Regions from separate parts of the Homo sapiens genome. Here region 2 is linked to region 1. The links are contacts of gene promoters, found by promoter capture Hi-C in blood cells and fetal thymus (Javierre and others, 2016). All regions are on one chromosome and are shown on one strand. Each heading gives the region's core, a stretch centred on a gene start or on the middle of the fragment in contact. The rest is flanking DNA. Distances are from core to core; before and after follow the strand shown.

What was found. Contacts are between HindIII fragments. The CHiCAGO score rates a contact against its expected background, and 5 or more counts as called.
Region 2: a contact is called between a fragment that was not itself captured here and the fragment with the promoter of ALKBH1 in region 1, in 3 of 17 cell types (monocytes, naive CD8 T cells and naive B cells). The highest score is 8.7, in monocytes.

Annotation. Positions count from the first base shown.
Region 1 is chr14:77,702,132-77,709,310 of GRCh38, forward strand. ALKBH1 (alkB homolog 1, histone H2A dioxygenase) reads right to left here and starts at 5,892. Exons shown (of 6, transcript NM_006020.3): 1 at 5,691-5,892; 2 at 2,238-2,346. The coding sequence starts at 5,873. SLIRP (SRA stem-loop interacting RNA binding protein) reads left to right here and starts at 5,972. Exons shown (of 4, transcript NM_031210.6): 1 at 5,972-6,077. The coding sequence starts at 5,981. RefSeq lists an enhancer at 5,526-5,855. The HindIII fragment of the contact is 1,367 bases long and covers 4,765-6,131 here.
Region 2 is chr14:77,521,355-77,528,107 of GRCh38, forward strand. SPTLC2 (serine palmitoyltransferase long chain base subunit 2) reads right to left here. Exons shown (of 12, transcript NM_004863.4): 10 at 92-227. Among named protein-coding and RNA genes, the nearest start is that of ISM2, 26 kb to the left of the region's middle. The HindIII fragment of the contact is 784 bases long and covers 1,665-2,448 here.

The DNA of each region.
Region 1 (7,179 bases), core at 4,642-7,141:
CTACTAAAAACACAAAAAAGTTAGCTGGGCGTGGTGGCGGGTGCCTGTAGTCCCAGCTACTTGGGAGGCTGAGAGAGGAGAATTGCTTGAACCTGGGAGGCAGAGGCTGCAGTGAGCGGAGATCACACCACTGCACTCCAGCCTAGGCGACAGAGCAAGACTCTGTCTCAAAATAAATAAATAAATAAATAAAAATAAGTGCTAGAGTTGAAAGGTGAGGAGCGGCCTCCAAGAACAAGACTATTGGTGATGCATGCTCTACATTTACCCAAACTCAAGAGGAGCCAGGCTGTTATATCTTCCCAAGCTATTAACAAGTATTTCGGTGGTCATAACGTATTAAGAGCTGTACCATAGAGTCCTGGCCATTGGCACAATGAAAACTAACATTTCTTTTTAAAGATTTCTCTTACTTTTAACCCATATTTGAAATCACAAGTGCAATGTTAACTTTTACAATGGCCCCAGGAGCCTAGAAAAAAGGTTAATAACATTACCTATTCTTCATTATTTTCTTAATTTCATTCTCTGTAAAAGCAGCTACCTAACATTACTAAATTTAAAATTGCAGACGAATCTATTCTGCAAAATGAGATGGGTCTCATTTTGTCACCCAGGCTGGAGTGCAGTGGCACGATCTCGGCTCACTGCACCCCAAGCAATCCTCCTACCTCAGTCTCCTGAGTAGCTGAGACTACAGAGGCATGCCACCACACTTGGCTAATTAAAAACATTTTTTTTGGCCAGGTGAGGTGTCTCACGCCTGTAATCCTAGCACTCTGGGAGACCGAGGCGGGTGGATCACTTGATGTCAGGAGTTCGAAACCAGCTTGGCCAACATGAAACCCTGTCTCTACTAAAAATACAAAAATTAGCTGGGCGTGGTGGCATATACCTGTAGTCTCAGCTACTCGGGAGGCAGAAGAATCACTTGAACCTGGCAGGCGGAGGTTGCAGTGAGCTGAGATTGTGCCACTGTACTCCAGCCTGGGCGACAGAGTGAGACTGTCTGGGAAAAAAAAATTTTGTTTTGTAGAGACAGGGTCTTACTATGTTACCCGGGCTGGTCGCAAATTCCTGGGCTCAAATGATCCTCCCACCTTGGCCTTCTAAAGTGTTGGGATTATAGGTGTGAGACACCTCGCCTGGTCCCTATTAGGACTTTCTTTTTTTTTTTTTTGAGATGGAGTCTTGCTCTATTGCCCAGGCTGGAGTGCAGTGGCACAATCTCGGCTCAACAAGCTCTGCCTCCCGGGATCATGCCATTCTCCCACCTCAGCCTGCCGAGTAGCTGGGACTACAGGGGCCCGCCACCATGCCCGGCTAATTTTGTTTTTGTATTTTCAGTAGAGATGGGGTTTCACCTTGTTAGCCAGGATGGTCTCAATCTCCTGACCTCGTGATCCGCCCGCCTCGGCCTCCCAAAGTGTTGGGATTACAGGCGTGAGCTACTGCGTCCAGCTTTTTTTTTTTTTTTTTTTTTGAGACAGAGTTTCCCCCTTATTGCCTAGGCTGGAGTGCAATGGCGCGATCTTGGCTCACTGAAACCTCCACCTCCTGGGTTCAAGCGATTCTCCTGTCTCAGCCTCCCAAGTAGCTGGGATTACAGGCACGCACCACCATGCCCAGCTAATTTTTGTATTTTTAGTAGAGACGGGATTTCACCATGTTGGCCAGGCTCGTCTTGACCTCCTGACCTCAGGTGATCCACCCACCTTGGCATCTCAAAGTTCTGGGATTACAGGCATGAGCCACCACGCCTGGCGAGGACTTTTGATGTCATTAATTGTAATTCTTTATTAAATATGTTCAGCCTTGATAGCAACAAGTTTTAAGTTGTTATGCCATTTGAGAATGTGACTAGAGGGACAATTATGAATTATTCATAACTATTATGACATTTATTACAATGATAATGATAAATTATTCTTCACAGCACTTCTGCCAAATCAGATGTTCAGAGTTGTGGCAGGGAGCCCAGAGGCAATGTCCTTATTTTTTCAATGGTCATGCCACTTTCAGCCACATTTGCAGGCACTGCTGACTCCTGTTCTATCCTTTCAAAACGGACGTCTTAGACAAGGTACAGTCTAGAATGGGTTTGGAAATGAAACATTTATCTGTTTATTATGTGTATCCTTTGTCTATTTACTTGCTCACACACAGTACCTTCTTTGAAGACATGAAGACATAAATGATTGAGTGATATTGCCTTCTCTGAGGTCAGTTACACTCACCAGGATAGCCTTTGAGTCCATAGGCTTGCCACTTGCTGACGGGCTGAAGACCTGCTCTATATGCATTCTGCTCACTGACAGAAGACACATTTAGCTGAGATTTGATCACCTGGCAGGAAGGAAACAGAAGTTAAAGGACTAAATCTATTTTGCAGGTCAACCCCGGGAACCTCAAACCTCCAAACACATTTCTTGTATGAGGCAAAGCTAGGATTCTTGTTTAAGATACAGAACCTTGCTCTATTGCTCAGGCGAGTGCAGAGGCATGATCATAGTTCACTGCAGCCTCAAGCTCCTGAACTCAAGTGATCCTCCTGTGTTGGCCTCCCAAAGCAATGGGATTAGAGGTATATGCCACTGTGCCTGGCCAAAGCAAGGAGTATTAACTCTGGGGTTAATCTTAGCTGTACTGCTTACTTGATCTGGGCATTTTAGATGAGTCATTTAATGTCTTAGAGCCTCAGTTTCTCATCTATATAGTAACAGTAGAGTCACCCAAAATTAAGGCAAAATGGTAATAAGAAAACTTAAGCAGGCTAATTTTGGCTTTCAAAACTACTTTTTCCTATGACATCATACCTTTCCAACTTCTTATGGGGCTGAATCATGAAAGGTGCTTGGTGTACTGAAATATCTTGAGTCACAAAGCTATTTACTTCAGTTAGGGCTAACAGTAATGCTTTTGAGACACTTGTATAGAGTTGGTATTTAAACAGAGCTATAAGGAACACCAAGCTGGACAGGGTGAGAAAATGAAAAGAGAAGGCCGGTCGCAGTGGCTCACGCCTGTAATCCCAGCACTTTGGGAGGCTGAGGCAGGCGGATCACGAGGTCAGGAGTCCGAGACCAACCTGGCCAACATGGTGAAACCCCGTCTCTACTAAAAATACAAAAATTAGTTGGGTGTAGTGGCGGGCGCCTGAAATCCCAGCTACGAGAGGCTGGGGCACCAGAATTGCTTCAACCTGGGAGGTGAAAGTTGCAGTGAGCTGAGATTGTGCCACTGTACTCCAGCCTAGGAACAGAGCAAGACTCCGTCTAAGAAAAAAAAAAAAAAAAAAAAAGAGAATGAAAAGAGAGTGCTGTAAACAGACAGAAAAAATGTTGCAGTGAGACACTGGGAATCCTGTCTGCTAAAAGTAAAAGCTAAAAAATCCTGTTTGCCCTCTTCTAGATGAAATGTCCAACTGACGCTACAACTTCTGCTTCTGTTAATTACTTAGAAATGAATTTAGTATTTCAGGGGCTGAAGTTTTCTTTGTATGTGAGTATCTAATGGATGGCTCATTACATTGGTTAAGAGACCCACTATGCAGTCATTGAAGTCAAAACATTAAAGGAAAAAACCTTTATTCTTCCCTGAATAGTAAACCTAGGGTCTGCCTTGCCTTAAAATATATGAAACAGGCCGAGCGGTGGCTCACACCTGTAATTCCAACACTTTGGGAAGCCAAGGCAGGTAGATCACCTGAGGTCAGGAGTTTGGGTCCAGACTGGCCAACATGGCGAAACCCCGTCTCTACTAAAAATACAAAAATTAGCCAGGCATGGTGGCGCGTGCCTGTAGTCCCAGCTACTTGGGAGGCTGAAGCAGAAGAATCATTTGAACCTAGGAGATGGAGGTTGCAGTGAGCCAAGATCACGCCACTGCACTTCAGCCTGGGTGACACAGTGAGACGCTGTCTCAGTAAAAAAAAGTATATATATTATATATACACACACATATATACACACACACATATATATATATATGAAACATTCTCTTTGAAAGAGAATGATCTTTTATCTTATCAACTTCTCCAAGTGTGGAGATTCCTGGACAAAATACCAAAAGTTTGCTGATGTATAACCAGTCTCTATAATAAAAGGGCTATATGAAACCCTCTGACAGTACTATCAGCTGAGTTTTCCAGGTACCTAGGCACTGGTAAAACACTTTTAAGCATTTTGTCATGATTTCTTTAATAGGCCATACTTAATACTGCACTATAATTCAACACACTCTCAGAGGTGATGTTAGTGGACCTATTCTATCATATGCTAAACTGAACGACACCACTGAGCTTTTATAAAAGGTTTTCTCTTTCCTCCCTTGCCAGACTGTTAACCACCACTTTCCCCACCAGTCTCATCAGCTGGCTTGTAATAGTAACTTCTCTTAATTACTACTTTAATCTGCTTTGAGCTGAGGAACTAAACACCCAAGCTTTCATGTACTCAACACATACTGTACTTAGTACTGTTTTAGGTCCTGTACTAGACACATAATGGCTCATTCCCTGATGGCTGACATTCTAAAAAGCATGTACATATTATGGTAAAATGTAGGTAAAAGGAGCTGAATGAGAGTCTGAAGCGCTCTGGAGAGAAAAAGTATATTATTATTGGGGTGTGGACTTTCTGTATTTTGACAACTCTAAGACCACTTTTTTTCCCTAACAAATGAAGGTGCTGAAAAGCTGAGCTCAAGTATGCAATCATTAACACTTAATACTGTAGCATCCCAATTTTATCAGAGCTGTTAGGAAGCTTGGAAAGAATGCCTCATCTAGACATCTGTGGACAACACCAAGAGCAAATTAAGGGACTGCATATCCTCAACGTTAAAGTGGATTGTAAAGAAAGAAAATATAAATTGGACTACAGTTTTGGTTCCCCGTTTTCCCTCTTGCCTGTTATGTTCCCTTAAAAAAATAATTTTTAAAAAATCTATTTACTTGAGAACAGGTTATGAGACTGGCTAATTTTTTGTATTTTTGGCGGAAACGGGGGTCTTGCCATGCCCCAGGCTGGTCTCGAACCCCTGGGTTCAAGCGATCCACCCGCCTCGGCCTCCGAAGTGCGGGATTACAGGCTTGAGCCACCGCTCCCGGACTGTGTTCCCCTTCTTAATCTCCATGGGGAAAAGCTGAGAGAGAGAACGGTGCCTGTATTCCATATATACTTGTTTGCCATTTATTTTCAACACGGAGGGATTCTCAGAATCCTTCAATGACCTCCTTCTAAAAGAGCCAGAGGAGAAGACAGGGACTAGTTTTACGCACAGTGGCTTAACAAACAGCGCCGCATCCCTGTCAGTTCTGGGATTCCTCGGGAGTGGTTTTTTTTAAGCTGCAGAAGTCTACCCTACCGTCTACAAAGACGTTCTATGGGGTTTTACAAAAACCCAAACAGAAATGTGAGGAGACAGTTACAGTAAGAAATAAACACGGATTCCCAGGCTCTTTTGACTGAGCGCCCCCGCCAGGAATGGCCGCCTAAAGAAACAGGCATCTCAACGCTTTATTGCTAAGTGTGACGGTTAGTGGGGAGTTCGACTCTGCAGCCAAAGGAGGTCAGGAATCGTTCAATAACAATCGGTCTGGAGGTGAAAAGAGGCGAAGAAGACACGTAAGTCCCTCCAAGACGCGGGGCAAAGCGATGGAGAGACGCGCGCCACTCCTCTCTCTGTACCTTTTGGGCACCAGGACCCTTGCCACGGGCTGCGTGGGCCGCCGAGAAGTCGATGACCCCTTCCAGGTCTGCGGTCCCGGGCCGGCTCTGACGGTAGAAGCGGAAAAGTTTCCGAAAGGCGTCCTCCCCGGGCTCAGTCGCCAGAGTCGCCACAGAGCCCACGGCCGCTGCCATCTTCCCCATCTCGCGGCCTATACCCTCTGATCCGGAAGCAGATTCTCTCGTGTTCCGGATCCGGAAATTTTTTCCGGGGCCGCGACCTCGGCTCGAGAAGGTGCTTTAGTCTGAAGATGGCGGCCTCAGCAGCGAGAGGTGCTGCGGCGCTGCGTAGAAGTATCAATCAGCCGGTTGCTTTTGTGAGAAGAATTCCTTGGACTGCGGCGTCGAGTGAGTGATGGAGATGTGGGAGTAGTGGAATTTTTAGGTCCAAGTGATCCTCAAAGCTTCTGCTTTTTGCAGGGTACTTAAGTCAGCGTGGTGGCTGAATTAGGAGACTGCTCCTGAGCATGCAAGTGAGCAGAAAGAAATTTTGTTTGCAGTTAACCGTTTAGGGATGTCCCTTGAGCTTTTGGGGTCACGAATGCACCGGCTCTTGCCTTTAGGAGTGATTTGGTGTAAAGATTTATTACTTGGTAACCAAGATTTACAATTTAGAAGGGATAATTTTGACTGTAGTGTGGAGGATGGATTCAAGGTGGCAAGATTGTAGGCGTGCAGAGGAGCTAAAAGGCAATTTCATTAATTTACTTAAAACGTGAGGACCTGAATTAGGGCGATGGTAGAAGGATGGTGGTCAGATGCATTAATGTTTTAAAAGCAAATTAGATGCCGTTTCGTGATGGCTTAAGTGGGAGAAGTGTACGGAATAAAGGAAAGGGAGAAATGATTTCTGGGTTTTTAGCATTGGTGAATTGTTTGTTTAGAAGTTAGGAGCAGGCCAAGAGAAGATGAGTAAAGTTTGAATGTGTTGACTTTGAGAAACTTGTGAGGTTTCCGTCAGGCAATTGGACAAAGGTTGTATATCATTGTGGCTGAGAAGTGGACTCCGAAGCTAGACCGTTGGGGTTAGAATTCCAACTTGGCCATTTAATCGTTGTTATCACTTGAATAACTGAAGTTAGTATGGGAAAAGGGCTCACAACTGGGCCTCAGTTTACTCATCGATAAAATGGAGTCAATAATACCCAACTCATAGGATTGTTGAGAGGATTGAGTTTATATGCAAACTTCTTAGACTTGTGTTAGATACAGTGTAAGTACTCAGCAAATGATAGTTATTTTCACGGTAACTAAAATTGAAACTTACGGGAGAGGCCTAGTCTACAGATAAAGGTTGGAATAATTAGTTCTGAAATCTTTCACCACCTTCAATTTTTGTCAGCTGCAGTTTTGAGATGAGGTTTTTATATTTGCTTACCAACATGTAAACATTCGTGGTCACTCTTTTTGTAGATATTCATGTTTCAGGTCAACCCCTGGAAACAAAATG
Region 2 (6,753 bases), core at 807-3,306, 180 kb before region 1:
ACCATTTTCCCTAACAAAATACATAAGCCCTGGTCTCACATCACAGATAAGGATAAGGACAGACTGGTCTGTGATCTGCAACAAAACGTACCCAATTTTGGCAGGCATGTAGAGCATCAAAGGCACTACTGGAGAGTCTTCATTTCCATAGATGATGAAGCCCATCTCTTTCAGGCGTCTCCTGAAATACCTGGTGTTTTCAGCTAACTGTTGTACACACTCTTTACCTGGAAAGTCACGGTGAGAGAAAACAAAATAATCCTAAGTAAAAAGGAATGGAAAAAAGACAGTAAATCTCCTCTATCTCCATTCTATCTAATCAGTTCTGTTTCGTTTTTTTCCATTTCACCATAAAATATTTTACAGAGTAAACCATATGGAATATAAATGTAAAATGTCTCATTTTGTATTCTGTCATTCTACCTGTTAACAGCAGAAGTTATAATAATGTAAAAAACGTTTAATGGAGCGTTAGCATCCTCAAAGAATTTCAGCCATACCCCCTCACTGAGCACTCCACAAATCCCTTGACAGTAGGCAGGATATTTATGATTATCTTCATATTATAGGTGGGGAGACTCTCACCAAGGTAGTGACATGCCTACAGTTGCACAATAGTGTGTGGCACATTACAAGTAGCAAGTGGCATAGCTGCAACTAGAATTTACATCTTCTAACTTTAAGATTCATTCTAATTAACTGTGCTGCAAATAAATTTTACACATAAGACCAGAGATGAAGCCTTTAGACCCCCAAATTTTCATCTTCTGAGTTTCATTTTGTTGTTTCCTTACAATTCTTTTTTTCTTTTTCTTTCTTTTTTTTTTGAGACGGTGTCTCACTCTGTCGCCCAGGCTGGAGTGCAACGGCACGATCTTGGCTCACTGCAATCTCTGCTTCCCGGGTTCAAGCGATTCTCCTGTCTCAGCTTCCTGATAGCTGGGGTTACGGGTGCACATCACCACGCCCAGCTAACTTTTGTATTTTTAGTAGAGACAGGGTTTCGCCATGTTGGCCAGGCTGGTCTCGAACACCTAACCTCAAGTGATCTACCCACCTTGGCCTCCCAAAGTGCTGGGATTACAGACATGAGCCACCGCGCCTAGCCTGTTTCCTTAAAATTCTTACCAGACAACAGTAACATATCTGTAATAGTATAAAATCGTATCTTTAATCCTATTTTGCTCATCTTCCCTAAAACACAAATAGATTAAAACACACGTTTCTGTCTGCAATTGCCAACTGACTAAATATTTGGGCAGGTTTTGACATTATGGTAAGTCAATCTTTGAAAAGATATCCAAACAACTGTTCTGTTATACAGAGCAAAGCAATAAATTTAAAAGATCTGCTTGGAAAGGGCTAAGAACTGTTTTAGAATCTTCTCAACCATGAATACTCATGAATAGAAAAGGCTGCAGTAATTTTCATATATAGATTATAAAATCAGCAAGTTCATATTTTTAAAAGTCCAAGCATGATACATGACATAAGTTCTTATGACAAATTAACCAGACATACAGATAGCTAACAATGTCCTTAGAATCAGAATACTAACATATCCATCATTCATGGGAAGCTACTCTATATAAGTTGGCCACAAATAAGTCAAAATTAATACTCTTTATGTAGATAATTTCAAGTTGATCACAGAAAAACACTCAAGCTTAGATTAGCCTAGTGTGAGCACTGAAGAGCATCATTTATGTCATCGCTTAAGTTACAAAGAAGAAAGCAGACATTAAAGTGTGTTATATTTAAGTATGTTGGGAACTGATGAGCCAAGTCCCCTAACTTCCCCCTAGAAGTATCAATACATGCTTAATTTACATTTAGAAGATGAGACTTCTTCTGGCCATGGAGTACTAGAGGCTGGATTTATCTTCCTGCTGTAAACAATAGGAAACTGGACAAAGTACATAAACAATGACTTTTAGACATTGAACCACGGGGAATGCCAGACTGTGCTGCCTGAAGGCAGGTTGCAGGCTGCTGCACAGGGAAGGAGGGCCCAGTCTTGCCAGCTGAGGACATCTGAGATTGGAGTGGAGAGTGGTCAGTTGAGATCAGAGCTGGGGAGGCTGCGGGGGCTAGAATTTGTTGGGCAGTGTACAGGAGCAGGGAGGTGGGGTGCGATGAGAGAGCTTTAGAGATCTGCTGAAGGGTCCCTTTGAACTTTGGGAAGGGTACTGATTTCTATACGCATGAAAAGAAACTAGCAGAGGCTGGGGAAAAGATCCATCAGAAAGCAATAGGCCAAACAATTCCTGCACTCACATGGAGCTGGGAATAGTTTGTATTTTTGTCCACCAAAATATAAAGATCTTATAATATGTGGGTTATCTAACAGAGTCCTCAGAAGGGGACTCTACTCCTATCACCTTAGTAGTGGAGATAAATGAACCCTAGACTAAAAATTGGTCTGAACCCACCCTAACCTTAAAAGCAAGCTTTGAAAGGATCCTACTGATTCCAAGAACAAAGTCCAACATTACCTAAAGGAAAACAACAAGATATAGAAACTAGCAATGTAAAATTAATGTCCAACATATAATTTTAAAATTCCAGGCATTCAAAGAAACAGGAAAATATGACGTACAACCAGGGGAAAAGTCAGTCAATAAAAACCGACCAAAAATAACGGAGTATTAGCAGATATGGATGTTAAAGGCCATTATAAATATGATCTATATGTTCAAAAAGGTAGAAGAAACATGAGGAGAGAAAGGAAATATATGAAAAGGAACAAATGATTGCTAAGGCAACAATGCTGATGAATCTCAAAATATAATGTTCATTGAAATAAGCCAGACATGAGACTGCACACTGTATGAATTCGTTTGTATGAAACTCTAAAAAGACATACTGTAATGACAGAAAACAGATTCATGGTTGCCAGAAAGTATGGGAAGGCGGCTGATAGCAAAGGGGCAGAAGGGAACTTCCAGGAGGGACGATGAAAATATTCTAACCTTGATTGTGGCATGGGATTACAGGAGTGAGCCACCATGCTGCCCAGCCACCACCTTTAAAAAAAAATCACAAACCTTTTAGCTATCTAATCACAAATTAACTAGCCTCTGTTAAAAAAAAAAAAAAAAGTTTTTTCAAACTAAAAATGGAACTACCATACAATCCAGCAATCCCACTACTGCTGTTTATCCAAATAAAAGGAAATCAGTGTATCAAAGGGATGTGTGCACAGCTATGTTTACTACAGCACTATTCACAAGAGCCAAATACGGAATCATTCTAAGTATCAGCGGATGAATGGATAAAGAAAATGTGGCAGATGCACACAACGGAATACTATCCAGCCATGAAAAGAATGAAATGCTGTCATTTGCACAAGATGGATGGGACTGAAGGTCATGATGTTAAGTGAAATGAGCCAGGCACGGAAAGACACGTATCGCATGTTCTGACTCATGTGGGAGCTAAAAAAGTTGATCTCATGGAGGTAGAGAGTAGAACAGTGGTTACCAGAGGCTGGGAATGGTAGGGAAAGGGGGATTGAAGAGAGGTTGGTTAATGGGTACAAACATATAGTTAGATAGGAGGAATAAATTATAGCTTTTGATAGCACAGGATGACTACAGTTAACAATAGTTTACCGTGTATTTCAAAATAGCTAGAAGAGCTGAAATGTTCTAAACACACAGAAATGATAATGTTTGCGGTGACACATATCCAAAATACTCTGATTTGATCAGAATATTTGATACCGTATGCATCTATCAAAATATCATATGTACCCCATAAATATTATGTATCAATTTTTAAAAAAAGGAAAGCCAGGCACAGTGGTGTGATTCTGGCTACTTGGGGGGCTGAGGCAGGAGGATCTCTTGAGTCAGGAGTTTGGGGCTGTAGTGAGCTATGACTGCACCTGTAAACAGCCACTGCACTCCAGCCTGGGTAACATAGTGTGAGACTCTGTCACTTACGAAAAATGAGCCAGGCACGGTGGCTCACGCCTGTAATCCCAGCACTTTGGGAGGCCCAGACAGGCGGACCACCTGAGGTTGGGAGTTTGAGAGTAGCCTGACCAAATGGAGAAATCCCATCTCTACCAAAAATACAAAATTAGCCAGGTGTGGTGGTGCATGCCTGTAATCCCAGCTACTCAGGAGGCTGAGGCAGGAGAATTGCTTGAACCTGGGAGGTAGAGGTTGCCGTGAGCGAGACTGCGCCATTGCACTCTGCCCTGGGCAATAAGAGTGAAACTCCGTCTCGAAAAAAAAAAAGAAAAATTAAAAAAATTTAAAAAGGAGGGCTGGGCATGGTGGCTCACGCCTGTAATCCCAGCACTTTGGGAGGCTGAAGCGGGCGGATCACAAGGTCAGGAGATCGAGACCATCCTGGCTAACACGGTGAAACCCCGTCTCTACTAAAAATGCAAAAACAAAATTAGCCGGGCGTGGTGGTGGGCGCCTGTAGTCCCAGCTACCTGGGAGGCTGAGGCGAGAGAATGGCATGAACCCAGGAGGCGGAGCTTGCAGTGAGCCGAGATTATGCCATTGCACTCCAGCCTGGGTGACAGAGACTCCATCTCAAATAAATAAATAAATATATAAAAATAAAGTGGCCTGTTATCCTTTAAAATTGCTAGGCTGAACCATCAAACTGCCAACATGCTACCATTTTTGACCTTAAAGCAGGAAATTTCTTATGGTTTAACTTACTAATTTCAAAGAGAATAACAGGAAAATAAAAGCAGTAAAATAAATGTAGACAAATCAGTAAGCCCTGGCATTTACACGTTAGAAAATAGTTATCCTTTGCTCTTAAAGTGAAACTGAATCTTAACAGACAACATAGTTACCCACTTTGACTTGAGTATCATATAAAATAGCAGTTAATATTTATGCAAGAAGACCAATTGCTATTTAACGCCAGTGTAGTAGCTCAGTCCCAAGGATTTTTCACTGCAGAGTTTCAGCAAGTATCTGGTCTAATACAGACTTGAAACAAAGAAGAAAGTTTAGCACTGTTTAAAAAAATACTGCTCTTAAGAAGTTTTTATCTTTGGCTCCGAAAGAACACAGATGGAAATATAAAGAGGTCAGAATTCTTTCCTACTTTTCAAACATAAATCTTTACTTTTAAGGGTGATAAAAAGCATAAAAGCAATTTGGAGGAGAAAAATCTGTACTGACTCTTGAATTTTACAAATAAACTTAACTGTGTGGCTGTCCTTTTGGACTTCAATATGGTTTGTTAGAATAAAACTATTTTTAGGAACTCTACTGTAAAAAAATCTACAGCTTGGCATGGAAGAGACAGAGAAAAGTAAATATGTAGTTAATTTCTTGGAAAATGTAGATAACTTTAACAGGTCATTTTTAGTCTTCAACCTCTTTACAATAAATCTTATTCTCAGGAAGGAAGGAATAGATATAAAAGATCAATATGCTGTAACAGCATCATTAGATTATTTAGTTCTTTTTTTTTTTTTGAGACAGAGTCTCACTCTGTTGCCCAGGCTGGAGTGCAGTGGCGTGCTCCTGGCTCACTGCAAGCTCCGCCTCCTGGGTTCACGCCATTCTCCTGCCTCAGACTCCCGAGTAGCTGGGACTGCAGCAACCCGCCACAACACCCGGCTAATTTTTTGTATTTTTAGTAGAGATGGGGTTTCACCATGTTAGGCAGGATGATGTCGATCTCCTGACCTCATGATCCACCTGCCTCGGCCTCCCAAAGTGCTGGGATTACAGGCGTGAGCCACTGCGCCCGGCCTCTTTTTTTTTTTTTTTAATTGAGATGGAGTGTCACTCTGTTGCCCAGGCTGCAGTGCAGTGGTGCGATCTCAGCTCACTGCAATCTCTGCCTCTCAGGCTCAAGCGATTCTCCTGCCTCAGCTTCCTGAGTAGCTGGGATTACAGGCAAGTGCCACCATGCCTGGCTAATTTTTTGTATTTTTAGTAGAGACAGGGCTTCACTTTGTTGGCCAGGCTGGTCTAAAACTCCTGACCCTCAACTGATCCATCGCACCAGGCCTAGATTTAGTTCTCTTAAGGAACTAGAAGGCCTTGAAAAGGATGGAGGGTAGAGGTTGAAGGAGCGCCACAATTATCTACCTACTGATAACCACTAGATATTGATAACCTTCAATCACGTTTACAAAACAGAATTAGATTTAGGGAACTACATTAATCACTGCCAAACAGATTTAAGGTGTACCAATTGCTTTTCAGTCATTTTTAAAAGGAATATTTTATCAAGTCTTAATCCAAATTTCTCAAGATTCTCAGCCATGCATGTAATCTTAAGGTTAGAAGGAACTACTATATTATTACTGAAATAAACTCCATAAGCCCTCCTAGATAGGTGTGACTTAGAACAGACAGTGTTCTATAAATTTTCTGAACGCTCAAGACTGCTTTTTTTTTTGTTTTTTTGAAAGCCAGGAAAAGATCCATGTAATAAAGTAAGGAATATAAAGGCAGCAGACATTTTTGTCTTAAACTAGTACTATTTAGCATTATACTTCAAAGAATAGAGCATGCACTCAGCTGCTTCAGTAGTAATATGATTTCCAGTTTAGCTGATGAGCTTTTATACAACTTATACCATAACCAACAAAAACATGTTTGAGCCTGCAGCTTCAAAAATAACATTTCTGTTGTTAACTGAAATCTTTCAAAATAAAGGACACAAATATTAAGGATGTTCAGCCAGAGTTGATCTCCTAACTCATATTATACTTCATTACACAGCTCCTAATCTTCTTAGATTTCCTGAATATGCTGA